Linked DNA regions of Homo sapiens: all the other regions are linked to region 1. The links are contacts of gene promoters, found by promoter capture Hi-C in blood cells and fetal thymus (Javierre and others, 2016). All regions are on one chromosome and are shown on one strand. Each heading gives the region's core, a stretch centred on a gene start or on the middle of the fragment in contact. The rest is flanking DNA. Distances are from core to core; before and after follow the strand shown. Region 1 holds the start of FLJ42393 (a long non-coding RNA gene). Region 2 holds the start of LOC105374265 (a long non-coding RNA gene). Region 3 overlaps LINC01991 (long intergenic non-protein coding RNA 1991). Region 4 has its middle 12 kb from the start of LINC01991.

Region 1 (4,440 bases), core at 857-3,356:
TGCTTGTGTCTAAATAGTGATTTATGAGTGATGCTCATTTTCTTTATACGGTTCCATATTTTTGAAATGTGTTACTATGACTAGGTCCTACACTTATAACACAAAAATACCACACATAGTAAGTTCAGGTTTGTTTTTGCCTTAAGTCTTCTTGAGGGAATATAAGGAGGTTCAAGAAAGAGGAGACAGAACATTCCCCAGACAGAAACAAAGGGGAAGGGCCCTTGGGCCATCAGGGCAGCATGTGCTAAGACACAGAGGCTGCAAGAGAGTGGGACCAGGGACACACTCAGAGTAGCAAGCACAGAGCATGACTGGCAGGGGACAGCCATAGCAAATCCTGGAAACAGAGGTGAGGTCAGACGAGAGCAGGGCAAGGTGGGCACGGTGAGGGATTCTGCCCACAGGCTACGGGAGGCAGTGAGTGAGAAGGCAAGAAGCCAGCTGGGAAGCCGAAGGACAAATGCCTTCCCAGACACCTTAAATAAAAGCAGAGTCAGGGAGCGCGGAAGCCCACGCCAGGGAGAGCAGGAAGATAGTTAAGTGTCTTACACTCATTGCCATTTACAAAATGGTTCTCCTTAATTTTCTTCAAACAAGGCTATGCATATATTGGTGTCTGGAAATGAAATTAATTAGTAAATCAAATCAATACATTCTTATTGGCCAAGCATCACTCACGATCCCTTCTGACTTCATCCTAAAAGTGGACCCAACCAACAACCCCCTATGTTGCTTCACAAGTAATTTCTGACCAGTCAGGCACAGATGCCATGCAAAAGACAAGGCCTCAAGGTGCCATTATCTGTCAAATGGACCCAAGGCAGGATGAGGCTGAATGAAAGAGGAGGAAGAGGAAGAAAGGCTCACTCAGGGGGAGAGGGGAAGCTGCTGCAAGCTAACTACTGCTCTCACTGACTCAGGATGCCCATTTCTCACAACCAGAGGCCACAGTTTTGGAGCAGACAAGAGACTGCAGAGAGGCTTGCTGAAGCTCACTCCACGGCTGGATTCCTGGCAGGATGAGAAATGGAGTTCTAGTAAACTAGAAGGAATGCTGCTGGCAGGAGACAGACCTCTCGAGAGGGCTTTAAATGGAAATATGAGAGCACGAGAGGAACTCTAAGTGTAGAAAATGCACTGGGCAAACAAGCGTGTCGCAGATGTGGGCGCCCCAGAAGGGAAGGAGCTCTGGAGTCACAGGGGACCCAAAGGACAGAATGTCAGGTGGCCCTCCAAGCCCGCAGGTGGCAATGGGAACAAGGCGGGAAATGAACTGGAGAGCTGAAGGCGGGGGCCTAGGAGGAGGCCGCAGAGCTGTGATGAAGGGCTGCTCATCAGAGGCACATGCACGGGTCAGATAAAGAAGCTCCGCTGCGAAGACAGGGGGCAATGCAAGGCCACAGCCGAAGATTCCATGCATGCTCTTCACGGTGGCAAATTCAAAAGCCTTGGAGGGCAGCATGCTTCTATGATAATAGGGAATGGGGGCCGGGGGGAATATGTAGACCCCATATCAATGCTCTCAAAACCTCTCTCTCTCTCTCTCTCTCTGTCTCTCTCCCTCCCTCTCTCTTGCTCACTCTCTCTCTCTCTCTCTCTCTCTCTCTGTCTCTCTCCCTCCCTCTCTCTTGCTCACTCTCTCTCTCTCTCTTTGTCGTGCTCTCTCTCTCCCTCTCTCTCCCACTCCCCACCTCTGGCCTAATATACCTGCATGTCCACAGAGGCACCAATCTGCAATGATGATGGACTCTCTCACCCACCCTGCTACTAGGAAACTTCTTCCATATATCATAAACAGAGACCAGTATTACAATACTTCACCCACTGCGCCAATTTGGCTTTCATGTCTGTTTCCTGTGTCGATCACAACATCCTAGACAGCCCAAACAAGGCTTTATTCACCTCTAGTCCCCGGTCCCTGGAACAGCAGACAATAAATAAGGAATCAACAAGTGTCCTTCACTGCCGCACACATTGGCTGTGAATATCCTTTTGCAAAGTGCAGAACATCTGAAAGATTCTCACATTGACTAAACAACAGTGTGACCTGAAGTTAAGAGAACCATAAAGGTAAATGATTGCTAGAAGTTTAATTCCAAACAAGGAAGAGCAATTTGATGCAATGGGCAGAAGACAAACATTGGGAGAATGAGAACGTATCCTCTTGAGTTGTGATGTGAACAAACAGAGATTCCAAGATCTTGCAAAAGCGAACAGTCAGCAACCAGCATGGTGCTTAGAGTAGTCCCTGGGCAACAGAAAAAAAACAGATAAATGAAGAAACATGGACAATCACCCTACCTGGGTCTCAGCGTGAGGAGGAGAACTAGGACTTCCAGACAGAAAAGAGGAGAAGCATGAGGAGGGGGCTGGGAAAGACATTTCCCTGTGGGCATGTGGTGCCCTCCACTGGGGCCAGAATTCCCAACCTGCCTCACTCTCCCCATCTGTGAAATTGGCTGATTCCCTGAGGTCCCTCCCAGCACTGACTATCAAGTGACAGAGAACCTAGAAACTCCAGGAGCTCCATCAGAGCCCTGACTACCTGTCCAAGTGAGACTGTGGGAGCCTCACTCTTCTCACACCTGTAAACTGAGGGTGCTGCAGTGTCAGCTATATCAACACTCCCAAGTATGCCTTTGCCAAAACCTCTATGGATGAGAAAGGAAAAGAGCATGTATGGAATTGGCCAGGGCTTAGAACCATCTTGAACATGACACACTTATGCACATCGTCACATCTTCCCAGCATCCCTGTCCCACCTCGGGCAGCAACTGTCAAAGTTCTGCCCCCAGGATGACCTCCCAGAGTCCTCAGGGCAGCTCCATCTCTCCAGCCCTCATTCCTTTCCAGCTCTTTGGTGTTTCCCTGTAATAAAAACACTGTGCACTTCTCTTTTCATGTTTTAACCATGAAGTGCCTTCCTCCAGACAAGTACTTTAATCCTTACTCCAGTCAGAATAGGTAACATCAGCATAATTACCATCATTACTCCCATTTTACAGAGGAGAGGGCTGAGGCTCACGTAAGACCTAATCTTCATCTTCCCAGGGATCCTCCAACTCCTAGCCAGGCCTCTCCCAGCTCCTAAATCAATCATGAAAGACTACAGCAATCACATCCAGTACTTTTCTGATCTAGTGTCTTTGCCGCTAAATAAAGGCAGAAATCAAGGTGGCAGGATCAATCCTGTATTCAAATCACTGTACTGTCTGCCACCCTCCTATGCTGGTCCAGGGAGCAGAACTGAAAATGTGCCTCAAGGCCCCAATCCAAAACAGATGCCATCACCCTGGACAGATTCTCCAACCATGCTCCAAGACTGGTATCCATCTCACTTCAACCAGCCCTCCTTCCCAGGCCTGGGTCTGTCTACTGGCACAGGGGGACCCTGCCATGAAAATGAGGGCATCTCTACTGGATTGCAGGCGATCCCCTCGCTGGGCTGGCCCACCCATTCAACCATCACTGGACCACCCCCAGGCCTGCTACCCCTTCAGACACTCAGCCTCATACTGCCTAGCTCTTTCTACCAGGTCTCTCCCTCAGATCAATTCCACCTCAGCCCCAAACTTGCCATCTCCTAAGCAGATTTATACTTCTTCCCAATTTCTATCCTTCCTCTAGCTCATTACTGCTTTCCTGTTGCTTAAGCTAAGTCTATTTCAAATTATAGCTCAGAGAGGGCAGGTGACTTGTTCAAGACTACACAGCCATTTAGTGGCAAAGCTGGGGCTTGAACCCAGCTCTCCCAATTCTAAGCCTTGTGTTTTTCCACTAAATCTCAGCTGTCTCTCTCTATCATACTGCTCAAGAAGCCACTGGTGCATGAGAGGGTGCAGACCACATCTTATTCTCTTTAGTAATGTGTACACTAAGGGCCAGGTATATGTTCAGTGACTTCTTGCAGTCCTAGGAGGTATGACTGTCTTTGTTTACAGATGAGAAAATGTTTTCAGACTACTGCACTGCTATACCACTAGTCTAAATACAGTTGTGAACACACAGCACTGGTCAATAAATGTGGGTTAACTGATTTTTTTTTTTTTAATTAGCTGAAGAGAGCCTAATGGAAAGACCTGAAAAACAAGTTTGTGGCCAGATCAGGCAAAGGGGGTAAGATCCAGTTATCATTCTGCAGTAGAACTAAACATAATATTGTTGCAGGACAATCTCTGATGGCAATGTGAAGCAGTCTGTGAGTCGGGGTGCCTGATTTTGACTCTACCTGACCTGACAGTGTGTGTGACTCTAGGCAAATCTTTTCTATTTCCAGGCCTCATTTCCCCATCTTCAAAAACTCTTTTTTAAATTTATTTATTTATTTTTTTTACAAAAGAAAGAAAGCAAGAAATCCCAGAAGTTGAACTAGATCATAGGTTCTCTTCAACATTAGTAGCACCTGTGAGCTTCTTAGAAATGAAAATTCAGGGGTCC
Region 2 (4,440 bases), core at 1,302-3,801, 240 kb after region 1:
AAGACAGTGCCTCTCAAAGTGTAATGTCCATGTGAATCATCTGGAGATCTTGTTAAAATGCTGATTCTGATTCAGCAGGTCTGAAGTAGGGCCTTGGGATCCTCAGTTCTAACACGGTCTTTGCTTCTCCTTCAGTCATTGAGAAGCAGAGGCTAGACAGTTTTTAAGTCCTTTTCAGCTGTGAACACTCCATGTTTCAAATAATCTCCCAACACTAGAGTGAGAAGCAGAATAGGAAGGCCTCTCTGGATGGAACATCATCTATATTAAAATGCCTTTTTGTTTTAGACAGGAAAGAATGGAATTCCTAAACTTGGGCTTAAGCAAGAGGAAAGGAAAGCACTGAAGGGGACATTTACTGTGAGGTCTGAGGTGGTTCCAAAAGGTATTAATGCTTGGAAGGAAGGAAGAAAAACCAGGCAGAAAGTTGGCTTGAGGCAGGTATAGAAGTCAGGGAAAAACAATCCACAAAAACCAGTGGTGGTGGTGTTGGAAGTGGTCATAGGAAAGTAATAAAGAGTTTTAATGCTAATTCTCCAGAGATGCGTGATTGGCCTTGTGTTTTGTAGATATTGTCCCACAGTCCATTATGGCAATCCTACAAAGCTGCAGGGGTGCAGCAATGCTGTCTCCACCATAAGGCAGAACTAAGTGGAGAGAAAGGAGGGACAATCATACGGAGAGGGAGGGGAGCCTCTTGGACCCTACAGAGCCTTAGCTCCGACACCCCAGTAAGGGGCTGGAGCCTGCTCTGCATCTGCTGTGGCTCTCCCTGGGTCACCCACCGGAGCCGCCGTGGGCAGTGGTATGGGGGAAGGAAAGTGTCTCAGCACAACCTCAGTTTCACTTCCTGCCTCAAAACACAGAGAGTCATTATATAAATATCAACCTCAGCAGCTGCTGCCCTCATCCCTCTTCTCACTATTACTCCCGAAGCTCAGCTCACAGCCAAGGCGCCTGCCAGGCCTCTCACTTTCCCCTGATCCCACGGCACTTGCACCAGGCCCGCCAGGTGGGTGCCTGGGGCAGAAATGAATCACAACTGCTCTCTGGCCCTCCAGCCAGCCATACCCAGCAGCCCTTGCGTCGCTGAGCAGGGGAGGTCGTCCTGACTGGTAGCCCACGTTAATCAAATTAAACCTTGTTCACAGACGTGACAGGCAGTCAGCCCATCCGTGGAGGCCGCAGAATGCACCGTCAGCACTCATTGCTGCTAGAGGTGGGGCAGGAAAGAACGCAGCATGTTTATATGTATATATCATAAAATGTTCTATTAAATTAGCTAAAATCACCAAAACTTTCAAAGGTGTTTTAAGTCAGGAAGCAGTGTGGTAGGTATAAAGAGTGGTCTGGAATGAAAGACCAAGAATGTGTTAGTCTCTCTAGTATGAATGAGTAAAATCTTTTTCTAATCTCCAATCATAAGAACTCCTCTTTGAACTTTGGTTCATTTTTCTTTATTTTCTTTCTAAAGATGTTACTAAAAGAACAAACAAACAAAGAAACAAAAACCCAAAAGGCAGGCCTGTCACATGATCTCCCTGATCCTCAAGTTTTTCATCTTTAAAATAATGACATGAACCTGCTTCTCTTCCAGGGTTGTGCAAGGAACATGAGATATGTGAGGTTTCCTTCTCTGCCTATTGATCACAATGGTTGACATGTTACTCTGTGTGTGTGTGTGTGTGTGTGTGTGTGTGTGTTATAAGAGAGGTTAGCAAAATGTAAGCTGTTATTCCGAGCTATTATAATTACTGATACCTTAACCATGTTGCAGCCATGGTCATGTTAGAAGCGGAAGAGCCCGGGCAAGGACTGGTAATATGGCTTCTCTGGGTCCTTAAAACAGTCAATGGAAAGCAATGTTTGGGAATCTCATCACCTGTGTGTTACTCAACTGATCAAACATTGTTAAAATATGCTCATTCTCCCACTTGATCAACTTGCGACCTAATTAGATATTTGTGATTTATTATTAAGCAACAAAAACAAATTACTAAGCAGTTTTTCAGTGCAAATCCATTAAAAATTTATTTATAAGCTTTAGAAAAAAGATTTTAAAAAGATGATGGATATTCACCAAAATGTTAACTACTGGCAATCTCTGGGAGGAGGAATTTGCATGGCTTAAATGTCTTTCTTTGTACTTTTTAAAATCACCCAAATTGGACAGGATTAACATCAGAAAAATTGACCCCTCAAGGAACACAGAGGTTAAGTGCTGTTAGCTTTTCCTTTTCCCTAAACACACATGTTGGTGTCAAATGAAGGGAAATTCAAGGTGAGAGAGCCAAAGCAGGCCACCGGGGGGTCCAAGTAAAGACTTTTTACTGAATGAGGGTCTAGAATTATTTATTTATTTTATTTTTATTTATTCATTTTTTTTGAGATGGAGTCTCGCTCTGTCCCCCAGGCTGGAGTGCAGTGGCGCAATCTCAGCTCACTGCAAGCTCCGCCTCCTGGGTTCATGCCATTCTCCTGCCTCAGCCTCCCCAGTAGCTGGGACTACAGGCGCCCAACACCACGCCCAGCTAACTTTTTTGTATTTTTTAGTAGAGATGGGGTTTCACCATGTTAGTCAGGATAGTCTCGATCTCCTGACCTCATGATTCGCCCACCTCGGCATCCCAAAGTGCTGGGATTACAGGTGTGAGCCACCGCGCCCGGCCGAGTTATTTGTTTTTTAAAATCTGTTTTTCAAGAGAGAGTGATTGATTTCTATGTTTGTCAGTCTTTCAACCATTCATCCTGTAATCATTTACTCACTTGGTAATCAAAGTTATTGGGTGGTTACGTAGGACAGAAAAAGGGCATGAATTAGCTGTCCAATGATCAGGGTTCAAGTTCTGCTACCATTTTTCTGAAGCCGTGAGCCCTTTGTCCATTTGAGCAACATGAGGCTCACTCATATGTAAAGTGGGGCTCATGGTGAACATGAAAGCTCTGAGAACTCCACAGTGCTGGGTAGAGAAGGAGTTTCTGTGACATGCAAGCCACTGAGCTAGAAATCTGAGATAGAAAGATAAGCCATTGATACAGCCTGTGCTCTCAAGAAGCTTACACTTGACTGGTCTGCTGGCTTAATGCTGAATCCAGCAGTATGGGGCACACAAAGAATCTCTTAGGTGGAATCTAGGAATCCTGGGTTTGGGGTCAATCTGAGCCACTGACAGGTTGTGTGACCATGAACCACTCACGTTCCCCCTCTGACTCTCGGATTTCTATCTGTCCCATGAAAGAATTATTAAGCCTGATGATCTCCAAGGCATTTTCTAGCTTAGACATTCTATGGAATGAGTGAAAATCAGGCAAAATTTGAAACATGTTAAAATATCCATCATGAGCCCATATGTGTCATATGCTGGTTCCTATTTGAAGAGCAAGGACATGGGAACATTTTCGGCTTGAGGCAGTACTGGCATTCCAAGAGGCAGTTCCTGGCTCTGTCAGTGCTGTTCTTCAGCTGGAAGCTCTGTTTCTCTGCTTAGCTTCTGTCACATCATGATAGAGAGAGAGTCTTATCGAAGAAGACTAGGAATACACTTGTGAATCGTGAATAAACATGATGGGTATTGAATATTTGCATGCATTTTTGTCATGTTTATTGGCTGTTTCTCGAACCTTACTATGAGTCTGAATGGGGGAGGCAGAGAGTATGAGCAGTGGGAGCCCAGCATAGAAATCCTAAGTTCAAGGTTTGGCACCGGCTCAGCAGGTGACTATCAAGGTGACATTCATTAATTCATTCACTTGTTTACTTAATCGGGAACCATCTATGGAGCATCTACTATGTGTGTTAGGCCCTGGGTTAGACATTTGAGATGTTAAGATGAGTAGGGTGTAGTTTACCGGACGGTGTGCTTTTTGAAAGCAAGTGCCTGATCCTTATTTCTTCATTGCTTGAACATGGCCCTGCCCTGAGGAGCACATAAATTAGCAAAGTCTCTGGGCAAGTAGTTTATTTTCCTAGAACTCAGTGTTCATTCCTCCTTAAGATGGTTTTGGAATTGGACTTAATGATCTCCAAAATTCCTTCTAGCTTGGATGTTCTGTTCTGCAGTTACCTAATATCTCGCAATGAGAAAGGTTTGCGTCCAGCGATGGAGGAAAGGTCACAGAACAATCTGCAGCAGGTGAAATGAAACCGCAGAGCCTCCAGAGAGCACATGAACCAGTAAGTCCCTCCTCACCTGAGAAGGCTATGAGACTAAGCCTGGTCTGGAAATGCAAATAACATGCTCGAGTACAGCAAGAACAACAGCACTGGCTTTGGGTTTTGGTGCAACGATAGGGGACCCTTAAGGCAGAAATGAGGCTTACCTGGTGACATGCTGGACAGTGCTGTACCATCCCACTGGTTCAGAATGGAGGAAAAACGTTGAAGCTGGTCATACTCTGGATAGAAAACCAGTCTCTGGGCTCCTGTCCCTCTGCCCTCCC
Region 3 (4,440 bases), core at 955-3,454, 210 kb after region 1:
GGACTCAAGTTCCTGTGCAAGGCTTGCCTAGCACAGCATGGATTAGTCTAGTAATAAACTTTTAAGCAAGTCATATTAATAATTCAAAGCCAAATAGGATTTTGCTGTCCTCAAAACTCTTGCACTTGCATTCTTTCCTTTGATCTCACAATAGCCCTGGAAGCAGGCAAAACCAGGGCTCTTCCCATATTGTAGACAAAGAAACTGAGATTCAGAAATGGCAGGTGACTTGTGCAAGGTCACACAGATGGGACTGCAACTGCCTGATCTAAGATTCTGACTCCATTTTCATGCTGTGCTGGATTCCACTGTGCTTGCTGATCTCTCAAGTCATCAGATTTGAAAAGAACATTACTAAGGATGTTAGAACTACATTTTAGGGCTCAGGGATGTCCATAAAAATAAGAATTTCCATCTCTGAATTATTAGAGCAGACACTTGTGGCTGAATGTTACAACTTGAGTCCCATATGTCAAGAAGGCTTGCAAAGTTCATTATAGGGTCCTAAGCCTCCAGAGAAGTTTCCAGTAGTATGTTGACTTGCATAAAAGGGAGAGACAGTGGTGGGCATCTTTTCCTCACTCCATGGTTATTGATGTCACATTGAGAGCTTGAATGTGCCATGGTGCAAGTATTTATACCACAGAAATCAGCAAAACCTATAATTCAGGGCTTTCTCACCACTGTAGAACCAGTTAAACATTTTCCAGCTTATAGCTCATGGTGACTGCACAAATTAGAGTCTGAAAATTCTCCTCTGTCACCTGCGTGGCACAGGCGTTGATTTTGCCTCTAACCACAAGTCATACCCCAGTGCCCATCTTTAAATGGGAGACTCCTTTTATCTGAGCTTGCAAAATCAGATTCATGGGTTTCTACTAATAGTCCCTTGCATTTGTGTAGTTTGTAACGTGTTTTCACATCCCTCATCACTTCTGAACTGGGTATAATCTATTGGGCAGATGTCATCTACCCTTGGTAGGACAGAAGGGCCTGGAGATCTGACAGGTAATGTGACCACTCTCAGTGTCATAGGCCTGTAAGTGGCAGCCAGGGACTTGAACTGGGTCTTCACCTCCTTGTTCTGTGCTCCTTTCCTTTGTACTAGCTACCTTCACCTAGGACACTTGCAATGTCTGGAGATGAAGCCACTGTCTAGGGCGCAGAGAAGAGTTGCCTAGCAGCAGTGTAACATTGGAGTGTGACTTAGCCATTGACAGAAAAGAACAGACATGCTAGCTTGAGAGTATCCACACTTAACTGCTAGTCCCACTTTACTGATCCAATGCAAGGAAAGAAGTCTACTTTCACTTCTCCTCTGTCTTCCATCTTCTCTTTGTTTTTTTTTTTAAAAAAAAAATAACTTTTATGGGTACTTTGTGTCTTTAGGTCCTGCTGAGGGTTCTGAGCACAACAGATATTTGGAGTCTCCTGAATGATGTAGCAGTAATGCCCTGTTCCGCCTGTTGCATAACTCCCAGCCTCATACTGCCTGGTGATGGAATTATTGATTGTTAAGCATTTCACAACACATTTTCAAAACATGCTGAAGGTCAAGAATGGATGACTCATAGGCAGTAACAGTTCCTTCTGCCTCAGTCCCTCTACATGATATTGGTGAGGTTGGTAATGAAAGTCATTGAAGAAATTGAGGCAAAAGTTAACTCTGTCCAATCCTGGCCAGCAGGATTATTAAGTAACTTGAAAAAAATAATTCCTGATACTCTATTTATTTAGTGATTGATCTTCTAAATCAGTTTGTTTTGTTGTTGTTGTTTGATTGATTGATTTTTTTGAGACAGTCTTGCTTTGTCACCCAGGCTGGAGTGCAGTGGCATGATCTCAGCTCACCGCAACCTCTGCCTCCCGGTTCAAGTGTTTCTCCTGCCTCAGCCCCCCAAGTAGCTGGGACTACAGGTGTGTGCCACCATACCCAGAAAATTTTGTATTTTTAGTAGAGATGGAGTTTTGCCATGTTGGCCAGGCTGGTCTTGAACTGGCCTCAAGCAATCCACCTGCCTCAGCCTCCCAAAGTGCTGGGATTATAGGCGTGAGCCACCATGCCTGGCTTCACTTTGTTTTTTAATACCAAGTCTCATAAATAGTATAAAGTGGGAGTTAAGGGATTTCAGTGCTGATTTTGCCACTAACTTGTTCAAAAGCACCAGAGAGTACCACTGAGGTACTCAGCTGAGGAAAAACACTTAAATGATATCTAGGGAACTTTACTGCTCTGACAGTCTGTGATTGTACATTAGTACTTTAGACAGCAGAGAGATAAACCCTGATTCCGGTTTACAGATAATTACTCATCTCTCTGCCTGAGGCCAAGAAAAGCCCTCTGTGGAGCAGTGTGGAAGAATGCCTTAGAGCACAGTAGCAGAGAGTTCCAGACCCGGAGGCAAGGGGATCTGGGTTAACTCTCAACGTTGCCAACTGTGATTTGAATCTTCTGACAGGGTGCTGGGCCTGCTAGCATCTCAGTTTTCTCACCTGTAAAATGGAGACAATAACAGTGTGTGAGCTTTTTTTGGTACAAACGTTAATGCATGAAAAGACCTACAACATGTTTCCGCATGGGCTAGTTGAAAGTTTTGGAGGAAAAAATATCAAGCTGATAATTTTTAAATTTTTTTTTTTGTTTTGAGGCAGAGTCTTGCTCTGTCACCCAGGCTGGAGGACAGTTCCACGATCTTGGCTCACTGCAACCCCCGCCTGCTGGGTTCAAGTGAATCTCATGCCTCAGCCTTCCCAGTAGCTGGGACTACAGGTGCGTGCTACCATGCCCGGCTAATTTTTGCATTTTTAGTAGAGATGGGGTTTCACCATTTTGGCCAGGCTGGTCTCGAACTCCTAACCTTAGGTGATTCACCCCCTCCTCGGCCTCCCAAAGTGCTGGGATTACAGGTGTGAGCCACCTCGCCCAGCCGTAAAATTCTTAATATGTAAGTATTTTCTTCAAAAATGAATCTAATTTGCATAACTAAAGTTTCTGAATGCTTTATCTAGAATAATCATGGGACTGGAAGTTTCTTAATAGTTCTTCTCTAGGTTTTTGCACTTTAAATACCCTGCAGGTCTTTTCATTCTAATATAACATAATCACAGTAATAAGAAGTGTGACAAAGCTCTAGTAGTTCATGGTGCCTGTGCCTCATTCACTCGTCAGCGAAGCCTCCCTCAGCATCCCCTCCCCACATCCATCCCTGCACACTGCACCCTCTCCAAGCTGCTGCCAGCCGTGCTGCTCCCCTGCCTCCTTACTGGAGTGCAAGCCAGTAAAAAAGGAAGCAAATTCGGTTATGTAAAGCACATTCTGGGTAAGGAAAGGCAAGCATGTGTTTCTGCTTGACTGAAATTGGTTTTTTTTTTTCCCCACCAGTTTGTCCTCTTATCGGGATACGTCAGAAATTAGAGAGACCCTGGCAATCACAGCTTCCACCTCCTCATTTTACAAATGAGCAACTAGGCTCAGAGTACAGAAGTGGCTTTCCCAGGGTCACACAGCCAGCTTGTGACAGAGTCAGGATTCAAGTACCATCTCCTGACTTCTCCATTGCACCAGACGTCGATAGAACACAGAGAACCTAAAAGAAGAAAGAAAAAAAAATAGAGCTTTTGGGAATATATTGGGCTTCTGGTTTTCAAGGACAATTTTATGATAAGTAGCAATGATGCCTCAAAAGCTCTGGTAGCTAGCTTGAATGAACTTATGTAATAAACATTTATCACAGAACATGTGTCATCAAACACCTGCCAGTTCTGAGCGTTGGCACCAAAGCTGCTTTCATTGTCAAAGAAAAGAGGGGGAAAGGAACTTGGCTGAACAAAGCTGGCAGACGTTTATACTAGAAAATTTAGAGGTAATTTCTAGAGGAACAGAAACACATTTTCAAAGTCTTATAAAATTTATTTAAATGTGATTGGGTGAATTTAGCAGTTAAAGAAGTGAAGAACACTGAGGTCCAATTGGTGCCTGAGGCTTCTTCCAGGACCCAGTCTTTTCTGTCTGCCTTGGGCACAGATTTCTAGATGCCTGAAGATGGACAGGCCCAGAGGTTGCCCAGAGTGATGTCTGAGATTACTGATCTCTATCTAGGCTTCCATAGAAACACATCCCAAAACGTTCTTGGTTCTTATTGGAATCTCATCTCATTTGCAGAACATGGCCAGAGTCAAAGAGACATGGACCATGTGTCACTCAGACTGAGTCCATCCATACAAAGAGAATTCTCTAGCCTGTATTGGAAGTCAATCTACATCAGCATGACAGGGCATGTAGCCGAATACGTGGCCACTTCCCTTTGGCTACCCACACATTTTTGAACTGCAAGATCTGTTCTTTATCTACTCATCTAATGGTTATTACTGGGAGAGCACTGGACTATAAATTCTGTTGCACTTGCAGGTGTAATGAGCTCTTTGAACCTCAGTTTCCTC
Region 4 (4,440 bases), core at 1,328-3,827, 190 kb after region 1:
ATGGCTAAAGAGTTGTTAAAAGTTTTACCTGTGAAATGAGCATAGGAAATATAAATTTGAACATTCTCTCAAAGTAATGGCCACCTAAGTAATGGTGTCTGAATATTCCTGACGTAGAGTGATGGCAAAACACTGCTGGAGAAGTAGGAAGTTCTCCTTTTATTTCATCTTTTCTCCCCCTTTTTTTTTCTTGTTATCCATTCCACACCCTTTGCCTCCAGCATACACTAATTCTGTTTGTTTTGTTTCTTGGGAGGAATGGTAAAAATGAGGCCCAGCCCCGTTCTTTTTTCTTTCATGTTTTCTTCTTCTTTTTTTAGTCTAATTCGGGACAAAAAAAGCTTTCATCGAAAGAGCAGATGTCATATGCTTTGGTCTTTTGTGGTGGTTTTATTTTATTTTATTAAAAAAAAATCCTCCTGCAGATGAGGCTCATTTAAACATAATGAGGAGGCAACAAAGGCGTCGCACAGAGGAGCTTCAGATTCGGTTTGACTCAGGGGAGGGAGAACAAACAAGGAGATGTCCTGTCCATTTGGCTTTCCTCTATAGGGCCCAGAGCAGCTGCATTTCAGATGCAAATGGGAGATGCAGGAGGTGGGGAGGGGGAGGGTGTGGAAATGCCCAGGAAGCTGGTGTGCAGGTGTTAAGGATTCCAGGCATCGCTGCAACAACAGGCTCTGAAAACACAGAGCTCCCAGACAGAGCGGGCTTGAGAGTGCTTGCTTGGAGGGCTCAAGTGGACCCGCAGCTGCACTGGACATTCCTTTTTGTGGTCATCAATGGGCCCTGTATTGAAAATATGAAAGTGAGCAACTGGCACGTTCAGAGAAAGGAAACGCTTTGGAAATTGAGCAAACGCTAGGCTGAAGGGGCCACCCCTTGGCTGCCCTGATTACTTAAACCCACGTGCATGCATAAAACAGATACTGGATATAGGATACTGTGACTCCTGGGGCTGGAAGGAATCCATGGAATCATCAAACTCTTCTCTCCCATTCTATGGTGAGAAAACATGCTCCAAGGGGCGGAGCGATTTGTCCCAGGTCACACAGAGGGTTAGTGAGACAGAGAACACAAAATGGGCAACAGTGACACTTATTGAGCCCTCTCTGTCCTAGTGACTATTCAATATTATAATTTTTCAAAGTGATTTACCCAGCAGACTTATGAGCTAAGTTTTTTATTTCCATTTTTTAGTATGGGGAAATTGAGGCTTTAGTAAATTTAAAACTTGTTCCCTGAAATACTGTTAGATAGAAGGAATAAGTTCTAGTATTCAATAGTACAGTAGGATAATTACAGTTAGCAATATTTTTTGTATATTTCAAAATAGCTAGGAAAGAAGAGTTATAATGTTCCTAACACAAAGAAAAGATAAATGATGTCGGTGATGACTATTCCAGTTACCCTAACTTGGTCATTACACATTGTACGCATGTATCAAAATATCACAGGTATGCTCAAAATATGTACAACTATTACATATCAGTTTTTGAAACCTTATAAAAATAAAATAATAAAATAATAAAAACATAAATAAAATAAAAATAACAAAAAATAATACAATTTGTCCCAAGTCAAAAAGCTAATAAGTAATAATCAGGATGTGAATCTAGGTGTGTATGTTTTATTCCAAAATTCATGCTTTTTTTTCATTACACTTCATTCCTGACTCATAGGTAGTGTTTTCTTCTCAAACACAAACACACACACACACACACACACGAAAATATTATTGCATATATGTCCATAGTTTCATATTGTACATATGAAAATATTATTTCTCTTTCCATTTGTGTAAAATGTACTAAAATGTATATATATTAAAACCATGAAATATGAAACATTTTCCTTCAGACACAAACATACTACAGCACTGTCTAATACAGCTTTGAAATAGTTACTTATGGTTGGTGATAATCCCTTTCATGTAATATGTATTCAATAACTATTCGATTTTGAATTGTTCCTTTTTATTGGAAAAGGAGCATTTCATTAGAGCCAGAAACTACTGTCCACCAACATTATTATTTCTGTGACTTCCACACATTTGCATTGTGCCTGTGTTTATGAGGTGCATTTGCATGCATTAATTCAATACTTATTGAATTAATTAAGTAATTAGTTGGCAGTACCTATGTAAGAAAAGAGTAAGCAGGGCCACTAGTCCCATCTTATAGATGAGAAAACTGAGGCTCATGGAAACTAATCAATTTTCCCACACAAGGCTGATGGTGAACTCAGGTTGTCTCATGCCAGCATATTGGCAGAAGCTGTTCAGTGAGGACCATGCTGACGATAGAGATCAGAGGGAGAGAGCCATGAGAACACAAGTGCACTTATTTCCCTGCTGAAGGATGCTGTGGTCCAATGTGTAGAACTCCAGATTTGCAGACAGACAACCTGACACCCTGTGGGTGTGTGAGTGTGTGGGTGATGCTGGGAGGTGCGGGGATCACGGAGATTGTGATCTTGGTGAGGTGAGGCTCTGTGGGTGGCTTTCTTTGCACAAATGTGTCACCCTGTGTGCCTGCCTGAGGACTATGACAATGCTCATACGAATGCCTGCAAATGATCACCCATATGGGTGAATGATACCCATGACTGTGCTGGTGATATGGCCAGAGTCCTGGGTTTTTTTGGGTCCTTATGTAGTGCACTGGCTTTCAGTAGTTTTGTGATGTCAACCTGAGCTTCTGAGATCAGCCTTTCTGCAGTGTCAGTGGATCCAGAGTTCCACTCTCTCCTTGGGAAAAAATAACCCAGCAATATCTCCTACTACTTAGAGGGCCAGGAGTGTGACATGTGTATTTGAAGAATGATACAGTATAAAATCTGAGGCTGCTAGGTTTTAAGGCACCTAGATCAGATACATATTTTATAGATGAAAACACTGGAGACCAGAGAAAAAATTGCTTGATTTATTACTTTGTGCCTGTTTTTGATATTTCATGTATTCCACAAACATTTGTTGAGTAGGTATTCTGTGGAAGGACCTGCCTTCAAGGATCTGTCAGTCTAGTGGAGAGAAGCATGCATAAACAAGTCACAATGCCAATCGGTGAGCCAAGTGGACATCTGAGAGGCCCACACAGCAGAGACAGCATTTGAACCCAATCTGGAAAGATATGCAGTCTTGCCCAAGGTGGAGAAGTGTGTCGCTGTGAGAAGGAGTGGCATGTTCAGAGACCCAGGGGTGGGAAGTGTGAGATCTGATAAAAGGACTCTTGAAAGCTGGCTGAAATGTAGGGTGTGTCTCTGTATGTATGAGTTTATGGGGTGGGGTCAGCAAGCAAAGCCAGAAGATGAGGAGGTGCTGGATCATGAAAGGCTTTATACACCAGATGAAGGAGTCTAGACTGTTCCGTAGAAACTGGGAAAACCTTGAAGGATGTTAAGCAGAGGGATAGCAGAATTATAAATTAGTTTTGAACATATCATTCTGTGCACAGTCTAGAAAATGGACTGGGGTGACCCTGCAGGCAGGAAGACTGGTCTAACCTTGCTGCATGTGCAATATTTGGGGATTTCAAAGTGGTGGTGTGGGTGGAAAAGATTGTCTGGAGTCGAGGAGAGAGGCCCAGGTGGCTGTCAGGATTAGAATCCATGCACGCTGATCTCAGTCATACGGGATACTTCTTAAAAAAACACTCCATCAAAAGTGGCATTCAAGTGTGCTCTAGTGCCTGGTCTGAAAGCCTCCAGAGGAGAGAGAATGCTCAGCATTTGTTCTGGAAGACATCCCTGGGTAGGCAGGGAGTTCCCCACGAGATGAGGTGGAGGGAGTCATGGAGAAGCACTCAGGCCCCTGTTCACTTGCACCGTTTCAGAGCCAGGAACCAGCTAGGGCCAACCCCTTTTTATTTTGGAGTCATCCTTCATCAGATATAGTGTTAACTCACTTCCTTTTTAGCCCCTACCCCGTTCCTACCACCACCACCTCCTTGCTTTAGTCACTGGAGCTGAGTCATCCTTCGAGCCTATTCCTGTCTCCCCGCACTGTGTCAGGGTGAAAGGGTTTGAGCATGAGCCACTGGGCATGGACATTCCCATCTGCTGGACAATCTCTGTGACTTCAGGAAAGAAGAGAGAAAAGGAGCTGATGTAGCCTGGGTACCTCCTGTGTGCCACGCCAATGCCAGACTCATCAACATTTATGTCTTGTCACAATTGTCTTAGGCAGTGGTGTTATCCTCAGATGGGGAACATGAGGCTCAGTGAGGTTCAGTCATTTTCCCAAGGCCACACAGACCTGAAGGATTTCAAAGTTTACACTATTTCCAATATATTACTTTGCCTCTTTACATCATCTCTGGGAAAGGATGGCATTTGATTCAACTCACAGTTTAGTACCTACTATGTGCAACACACTGTGCCAGAGGGGTTAATAGAGGGTTCCTGCTGTCAAGGAGCTCAGCATCTCATGATGGAAACCTT

Evidence for each region. Contacts are between HindIII fragments. The CHiCAGO score rates a contact against its expected background, and 5 or more counts as called.
Region 2: a contact is called between a fragment that was not itself captured here and the fragment with the promoter of FLJ42393 in region 1, in 1 of 17 cell types (fetal thymus). The highest score is 5.1, in fetal thymus.
Region 3: a fragment that was not itself captured here is called in contact with the fragment with the promoter of FLJ42393 in region 1 in 1 of 17 cell types (fetal thymus); the score reaches 5.0 in fetal thymus.
Region 4: a contact is called between a fragment that was not itself captured here and the fragment with the promoter of FLJ42393 in region 1, in 2 of 17 cell types (fetal thymus and activated CD4 T cells). The highest score is 7.9, in fetal thymus.

What each region holds. Positions count from the first base shown.
Region 1 is chr3:188,176,209-188,180,648 of GRCh38, reverse strand. FLJ42393 (a long non-coding RNA gene) reads right to left here and starts at 2,106. Exons shown (of 1, transcript NR_024413.1): 1 at 1-2,106. All of the region lies in intron 1 of LPP (LIM domain containing preferred translocation partner in lipoma), which reads right to left. RefSeq lists an enhancer at 730-1,342. The HindIII fragment of the contact is 11,595 bases long and covers 1-4,440 here.
Region 2 is chr3:187,932,432-187,936,871 of GRCh38, reverse strand. It overlaps LOC105374265 (a long non-coding RNA gene), which reads left to right and starts at 3,647. Exons shown (of 2, transcript XR_924814.1): 1 at 3,647-3,727; 2 at 4,040-4,440. RefSeq lists an enhancer at 4,264-4,313. The HindIII fragment of the contact is 1,015 bases long and covers 2,044-3,058 here.
Region 3 is chr3:187,966,152-187,970,591 of GRCh38, reverse strand. It overlaps LINC01991 (long intergenic non-protein coding RNA 1991), which reads left to right. Exons shown (of 3, transcript NR_135538.1): 2 at 3,383-3,863. Among named protein-coding and RNA genes, the nearest start is that of LINC01991, 8.0 kb to the left of the region's middle. The HindIII fragment of the contact is 6,666 bases long and covers 1-4,440 here.
Region 4 is chr3:187,986,181-187,990,620 of GRCh38, reverse strand. No RefSeq gene overlaps it. Among named protein-coding and RNA genes, the nearest start is that of LINC01991, 12 kb to the right of the region's middle. RefSeq lists enhancers at 292-825, 3,786-4,080. The HindIII fragment of the contact is 4,467 bases long and covers 344-4,440 here.